2 separate regions of the Homo sapiens genome follow, and region 2 is linked to region 1. Evidence: promoter capture Hi-C in human tissues and cell types (Jung and others, 2019). All regions are on one chromosome and are shown on one strand. Each heading gives the region's core, a stretch centred on a gene start or on the middle of the fragment in contact. The rest is flanking DNA. Distances are from core to core; before and after follow the strand shown. Region 1 holds the start of XKR6 (XK related 6). Region 2 overlaps LINC00529 (long intergenic non-protein coding RNA 529).

What was found. The method cuts DNA at HindIII sites, captures the fragments that hold promoters and counts their contacts. A contact is called where the count stands out against the background at its distance.
Region 2: a contact is called between a fragment that was not itself captured here and the fragment with the promoter of XKR6 in region 1, in 1 of the 25 tissues and cell types used here (mesendoderm cells).

The regions. Positions count from the first base shown.
Region 1 is chr8:11,199,885-11,203,393 of GRCh38, forward strand. XKR6 (XK related 6) reads right to left here and starts at 1,949. Exons shown (of 3, transcript NM_173683.4): 1 at 692-1,949. The coding sequence starts at 1,455. RefSeq lists silencers at 433-902, 1,103-1,462, 1,543-1,712. The HindIII fragment of the contact is 3,836 bases long and covers 1-3,509 here.
Region 2 is chr8:11,246,285-11,250,209 of GRCh38, forward strand. It overlaps LINC00529 (long intergenic non-protein coding RNA 529), which reads right to left. Exons shown (of 5, transcript NR_170283.1): 5 at 980-1,505. Among named protein-coding and RNA genes, the nearest start is that of LINC00529, 36 kb to the right of the region's middle. The HindIII fragment of the contact is 4,309 bases long and covers 1-3,820 here.

The DNA of each region.
Region 1 (3,509 bases), core at 699-3,198:
GAGAGTTAACACCAAACGCTCGCGCCCATCACATTTTATCCCATTTTTACCTGTCGCTAAGAAAAGGACACGTCTAATCCAGCAAACCAAAAAAAAAAAAAGTCTTTTTTCCTTCTGGGAAAGCAGTGGTTTGGAGTCATTCACAGGGGCTGGGAGTGCAGGAGGGGGAAGGGGCGTGGAATCCAGGAGTGCTCGGAGGCGGCAGCAAGGGTTTTTCCACAGGGCCCCACGCAGGCCACTGCAGAGGGAGAACGGGGGAAGAGGGGAGGATGTCTCACCTGGGAACAAACCCGAATGCAGCGGCTGGAGGAGGGAAGGCTCCCCGGGGCCGCGAGCTGGGGTGCAGCCCAGGGCGCCCGCAGCTGGTTACCTCGGGAGGCAGGGAAAAGGGACGCTTGGGAACGGAGCTCTGCAGAGGGGACGGGGAGGGCAGGTTGGGGCAAGAGCCCCGCCGAGTGCGAAGCGGGGACGAGGACGGGCCAACGGCAGGTCTCGGCCTCCCCGGGCCAAAGGCGTGGCCAGGGATCCAGATCAAACGCCGGTCTTTTGGAGACGCCAGGGGCGGCGCGCGGCCGGTCCCTCCTTCGAGCCCCCCGCGCTGGGCCCTTTCGAGGGGCCGCCCCGCGAAGCACCGGGAGGGCGGAGGGGGGCTCCTCAGGGCCGGCCCGCCCCCACCCCGCAGTGCTCTTACCTCCACACCTGCCCCATCTGCAGCAGGTGGATGACCGACTGCCAGATCCACACGGAGAGGCGACACAGGCGCTGCGCCCCCGGCGTGGGGGAGACCCTCACGCCTGGGCCACCGCGGGCCGCGCCGTGGACGTAGCCGGCCCCCATCATGGGGGGGCCCCGGCTGGTGAGCCCCTCCACGGCGCCCAGCCCGCCGCCCGTGTAGTCCTGCACGAACCAGCGGAAGCTCAGGCTCTGCACCAGCAGCGACGGCACCAGCACGAAGAAGAGGGTCAGCCCGAAGTAGACGTAGTCCCCCTTGCGGTAGTAGTCGAGGGCCAGCCACAGGTCGGTGCCCACGTCCCCGAAGAACACCAGCAGCGCCAGCACGATCCACAGGCAGTCGAGCCACGGCCGCTCCACCTGCGGCGGCGGCGGCTCCGGCCGCGCGGCCGAGGGCGTCGGGGGTTGGCGGCCGGCGCCGGGGGCCGCGGGAGGCTGCAGCGGCTGGTCCCCCCCGTCGGCGGCGGCGCTGCGGCGCGGCTTCCTGCCCAGGAGGGAGCGCAGGCAGGCGGAGCGGCAGCCCCAGTAGCACGAGGAGGTGTTGCAGCAGTGGCAGATGTGCATCGAGCTGCTCTCGCCGGGCTCGCTGCCGTCGCCGCCGCCGCCGCAGCCGCCTCCCCCGGGCTCCCCGTCCTCCTCGCCGCCGCTGCCCACCGCCTCGTCCAGGTTGTGCAGCTGAGCGAAGCCCACCCCCACGCCACCGCCATCGGATTTCGCCGCCATCTTGACTCTCTTCCCAGCTCCGGAGGTTGGGGGGGAGGGACGGCGGGGGGGGGGGGAAGAAGGCAGGGAACGGGGAGGGGGGGAAACGAATGGAGAGGAAGGGGGGCGGGGAGGAAGCGGGGGAGCAAACGAACGAGGGGGGAGTGGGCCAGGGAACCCCCTCCGCTTCCGGGTAGTTGGCGTCACTTCCGGGCGAGCCCCCCAATCGCACGGCGCCCGCAGCTCCCCAGCCCTACCCTCCCGGCCAAGATGGCCGCCCTCCTGTGCCTCAGCTGCTGGGCGGGGGACCGGGGGGTTCTCCCCGCCAGGGCTCCCCTTCCCCTCTTCCGTTGACCCCGAAACCCATCAGGTTGACCCCTCGGCGTTTCAGAATCCGGCTGGCCCGAGTGAGGCGGTCCAAAGTGATCCCTGGAGGGGGCAGTGCCAGACGTTTTGGGGTCCCCTTCCTCAGCGTCGCAGCTCACAGCTTTCCTCCTGGAGAAACGCCCCCTAACACCCTCCCGGCTGCTGGTGGAGGGGCGGGACCTCTGAGGGAAGGGGCGGAGCTAGTGCAAAGCAGGTGATTACGTGTCACTTCCGGGAGATGGGATGACCTCATTGTGTAGTTAGACAACACCCCCCCCCAATCAAAATGTCTATGTCTCACCTCTTTGGCTGTTTCTATTTTCTTTTAAATTTCTCTTATTCTTCTCTTATTTTGAGGGTCTTTAAAAATTACATAAGTCAGATTTTCACAATCAAGTTACTGATTCTCACTTCCATTTAGACACCTCTCCTCTTACCTCTGTTGACCTCCTGATTTTCCTGTCACTGACAACTTAACCACCTTTTGTAATAAAGTTTCCATCATTACCTTAAAAAAGCTTCAGGCAAAATTCAATTGGAAATCAGCCTGGTTGGGTCTTACATGTTGGAGCAAGGAATGAATGGGCATATTGTGACCTTGAATATATTTTCTGCCCTATGGAAATATATTCTACCAACTTTTTTTTTAATATGCAATTTTTAAATTCTGTGATCTTAATTTGGAAAATGCAGAACTAGCCAGGGCTTAACCTGTATCAATTATTTGTTCAGGTTATTTAAATGTGTAAGGAGTGCCTTTTAGAATTTTTTTGGTGCTAAGGCGCTGTGGGTAAACATTGCTTTAAATAAGGAAAAAAATGTTATCAATGTGCTATATCATTAAAGTAGGTGCAGGATACACTACTTAAACTTAGCTAACAAATTACAAAAGTGAAACAGCACTGAATGGATTTGAATTACAATGATCTTCCAGTGAAAGTATTTTTGAAGCCAGATAGCCAAAATAGGGCAAGCTACATGGTTACAGTTGTTCCTGATCAGATGAAATGAACATTTTACAGTTAAAAAAAAGAATGAGGGGGAAAAAAATCCCTGAATTTTCTCATTGACTTCCCTAGATTTTTGAACTCATTTTTGTGATTCTGTCTACTTCTCCATTCACTAAAGTCTTCTAATAATGCCAATAACTGTCTTTAGAATGTTAAGAGTACAAATTAGGTAATATTTATATGGCTGGAGGTTCTATGGCAGAAAGGTGCGTTTGACAACTTCAATAGTTACTTTGATACTATTGAATACTATGGCACCTATGAGTTTTGGGAGTGGCAGGGTAGATGGGGATACTACATTTTAGGACACAGCTTTTCATGAGTATATATGCCAGTGTGAAATCTCTGAAGACTTTAGAAAAATTACTAATAGTGAATTTTTACTCCCATACATTGGGAAGAGGGGAGTGATTCCAAAATCAACTTTTAGAAACCAGCCATATAACTGTATCCATGTATTTCATGCTATGATTTAAGCCTCATACTCCCTATGGTATGTAAAACTCATACTCATATGTAAGCCTCATACTCCCTATGGTAGTAAAACTTAAGGCCAGCAGGTAAAGATTATTTCTGCATATAGATGGGATTCTGTTTCTTTGCTGAATTTGAATGAATAACACCTTACATGGCATAAATATAGAGTAGGATTGCCCAGGTATGAACCCCAATTTCACTAAAATAGTAACATGAATAATG
Region 2 (3,925 bases), core at 416-2,915, 46 kb after region 1:
ATATCCAGTGTCCTCCCGACTAAACATCACTAGTGCCCTCCAATCATCATGGCAACCAAAACTTCCTTCAAAGATTTTCAAGAGATCCATGATGACAAACCACTAAATTGGATAACTCCCAAAGCACTCCCAGAACGAGCTCACTTCGATTCTAAGATCTCTGGGGTGTCACAGGTAAAGGAGATTGCCAATGAGATTTAAAGTCTGGGAGTTACTATCGCAGGCCATTGCCGTGACCTGACCAGAACATAAGACACAAAGGAACATGAATCTAAGAAGGAAATATGGCAAACCAAGCCAAGGCATTTACTTTTGAGGGCAAATCACAAGCTTTAAGGGAAAAATAAAAAAAAAATTACTTTTAGATCTTACAATCAGAATTGTGCAAGTAACTATAATTCTGGAAGTATGGTTCAGGGTGGGCACTCCTCGAGCCCCCAGGCTCTGAGGTGTGGAGCTGGTAGTGTGTCCATGGGGGTCAGGAGCTTGAAATATTGTGCTACATATGCCAAGTATGCTCACTCCATATGTCTCTGGAGAGAGGAAAGACAAGCAGCTCCACCCCTTGCTGTGTGGCTGTGGTCAATTTACTTGACCTCTCTGAGCTTATTCTATAATTAGTAACGCTGACCTCATATTCCTAATGTATAGGTAGTTGTAAGGATTAGATATTGCACACAAAGGACTTAGCTCAGTGCATGGTACTTAATAAAGGATGAATAAGCTATATGATAAACTATTCATTTTTTATACAGTATCGGATCATTCTCTTTTCAAATTTTCCACTAGAGGGTGCCAAACACTAGCCTGAAACTTGGAAAAACTGTTGTCCAGACTCCCCCTGCCCCAAACACCCAATTTGTAAAACATGCTCTCAAGATCCTAAGCACTGGTGTCAGCAAAAAGACTTGGCAGACTCTCCATTTGCTTTCCTCTTCACCCCTGAGAGGTCCTACACCTAAAATAAAGACGCTCAACTTCAAGACTGTTAGTTTTAATTAAACACTTCTTACAGGTGCATAGATAGTGTTAACTGTGATGTTGCCATGGCTTTAAATCAGCTGCATACACAAGACAGAGCTGCAGGGGCCGCCTGCCCCTGAGGCAGGCAATGAGGGATGTTTGTAGAGAATTTAAACACAATAACACAGCTGACTAAAAGTCAGTTCGCTTGTGATATCACCAAGTGCTAGCAACTCTAAATAACATCAGTGATAAAATACTGTTCTGCAAAAAAAAAAAAAAATCTTTTGTTGTTCAAAGTTCCAAATAATCTCTGCAGACATGATGGCATCTTAGCAATATGTATGTAAGCTTCAATTTGATACATTTCTTACTTACCATTAATAATTTTAATATATCTGGAAGTTAATTCAGAGAACTCCATGTGGTACAGAAGCGTCTTCCTAGTGGACTCAGCCACATACATTTTGTTGTTATCTGTTCACACACAGCGCCAGCCCGGAGTTTGCACCTTGAGCGACAACTGTCTCCAACCCCTACATCTAAATAGTAAATTCAAAACAAACCATAATAACTGTGATTGTAATGATGAAAGGAGTAGACCTTGGGTTATCTTACTTTTGTCATTTTATGTGATAAAAAATTTTAAATTTGTATTTAAACTTTAAAACCAAAACAGGCAGAGAATCATGAGGTCAATTTTTTACTGGCAAACTGCAAATTTAGTTCATATGTGATGCGTTCCTAAATTTGAATAATATTCAAATGAAAAAGTACTCTTTCTTTCAATTGTGTTTTGAAACTAGAGATTGTTCAACTGGTCAATTTTTTAAAAATGAAGAAACTACAGACTGACTCAAGAAAATAATGATTGCTAATGATTGCATGATTATCACTATAAAAATAATTTTGATGTATGGGGAGGGTGTTAAAAACTCTCCACTCCAGGTGTCAACTGTTCTAGGTCTACTTTTGTCTTAAATCCCAACTAAGTCGCTTTGCACATCCAAGAAAGGAAGGCCGACTGCCCTGGGAGAGCCCCCAGTGATGCGCTGAGAAGAATCCTAGTTGTGGGCAGATGGGATTGGCTGCTCTCCTGAGCATACACACTGCCCCTGGACTCCTAAGCCCTCCAAGCCCTGTCTCTTCCACTCCTGCACCCCTGGAGACCTTTTATTTAAGGAGGCCCTATTTGGGAAGATCTCAGAGCACTTTACAAATACCAACTTTGGTCTACAAGTGGGAGGAAGTTTCAATCTCTGTATCCTAGATGAAGGGGCAGGCTCAGGCAAGGGAAACCCCATTGAAAGCCTTGCTTTGAGTGTGTTCTGGCTATGACCACACCATGATATATGCATGTTATTACACACAGACCTACGCTTCAAGAATGCATGAGCTACCCTCCCATGGAACTTGGTCAGTTATTATCCAGCAAAATAAATGGACAACTTTTCTATTCCCTTCTCCTTTGCATTGTTGCAGTGTTTCACATTCCCATCCCCAAATTAGAGGGATGAAAGAAAGCAAAAACATTCTTTCCTATCCATAGTACATGTTTCTAGAAACATAGCCAACTCCATTCCCCCAATAGCTACCAAGCTAGTAACAATTCATACCATTTATTAAGAGTAGAAGTACACACCAAATCAAACTGTTCTGTCTGCTTTATTTTTAATTCTTGCAGTAACTTCAAGCAAGTTGCAAAAACATCACCCAGCTAATGATACAAGGAGCCAGCCCTCTTTGTATCTTGGAGCACCAGGCATTCTTCCAGGCATGTATAGAAATGAGCTCAATCGGCCGGGCGTGGTGGCTCAGGCCTGTAATCCCAGCATTTTGGGAGGCTGAGGCAGGCGGAGCACGAGGTTAGGAAATCAAGAACCATCCTGGCCAAGATGGTGAAACCCCATCTCTACTAAAAATACAAAAATTAGCTGGGCGTGGTGGCGCATGCCTGTAGTCCCGGATACTCTGGAGGCTGAGGCAGGAGAATCGCTTGAACCAGAGAGTCAGAGGTTGCAGTGAGCTGAGATCACACCACTGCACTCCAGCCTGGCAACAGAGCGAGACTCTGGCTCAAGAAAAAAAAAGAAAGAAAGAAAGAAAAAAAAGAAAGAAAGAAGTAAGCTTATTCTTCCCCCAACGCCCAAATCCTTTTTTTTTTTTTTTTTTTTTTTTTGGAGAGACAGAGTCTTGCTCTGTCGTCCAGGCTGGAGTCCAGTGGCGCCATCTCGGCTCACTGCAAGCTCTGTCTCCCGGGTCCATGCCATTCTTCTGCCTCAGCCTCCCAAGTAGCTGGGACTATAGGTGCCCGCCACCACGCCTGGCTAATTTTTGTATTTTTAGTAGAGACGGGGTTTCACCGTGTTAGCCAGAATGGTCCCGATCTCCTGACCTTGTGATCCACCCGCCTCAGCCCCCTAAAGCACTGGGATTACAGGTGTGAGTCACCACGCCTGGCCTCCTTTTTTAAGTTCTAAGTTTTCAAATTAAAATTGTGGTAAACTACACATAAAGTGACATTTACCATCTTAACCATTTCTCAGTGTACAATGTCATGGTCTTCAGCACATTCCCACTGTTGTACAACCGTCGCCACCACCCATCTCCAGAACTCTTCATCTTACAAAACTAAATCTCTGTACCCATTAAACAATTACTCCCAATCTTCTCTTCTTCTTCTTTCCCAAATCTTAAGTATAAAGCAGATAGTATTATTATCACCATCCCCATTTTTCAGATGAGGGAATGGAGGCATCGTGAGATTCAATAACTTCCCCTGATCACAGCTGGTTGGTGGCAGAGCTATGATTCAAAGCCAGGTGGTCAGGCTGCAGAAGTCATGGCCTCAACCACTGTGCGGCCTCAGGCACACCTCACAGAACTGTGCTGTGTTGTCTCTTCTGCTGTTGAGCCTATCTAGAAGATGTAGAAACGGTAGCTTAGAAAGTTAAAGCAAATT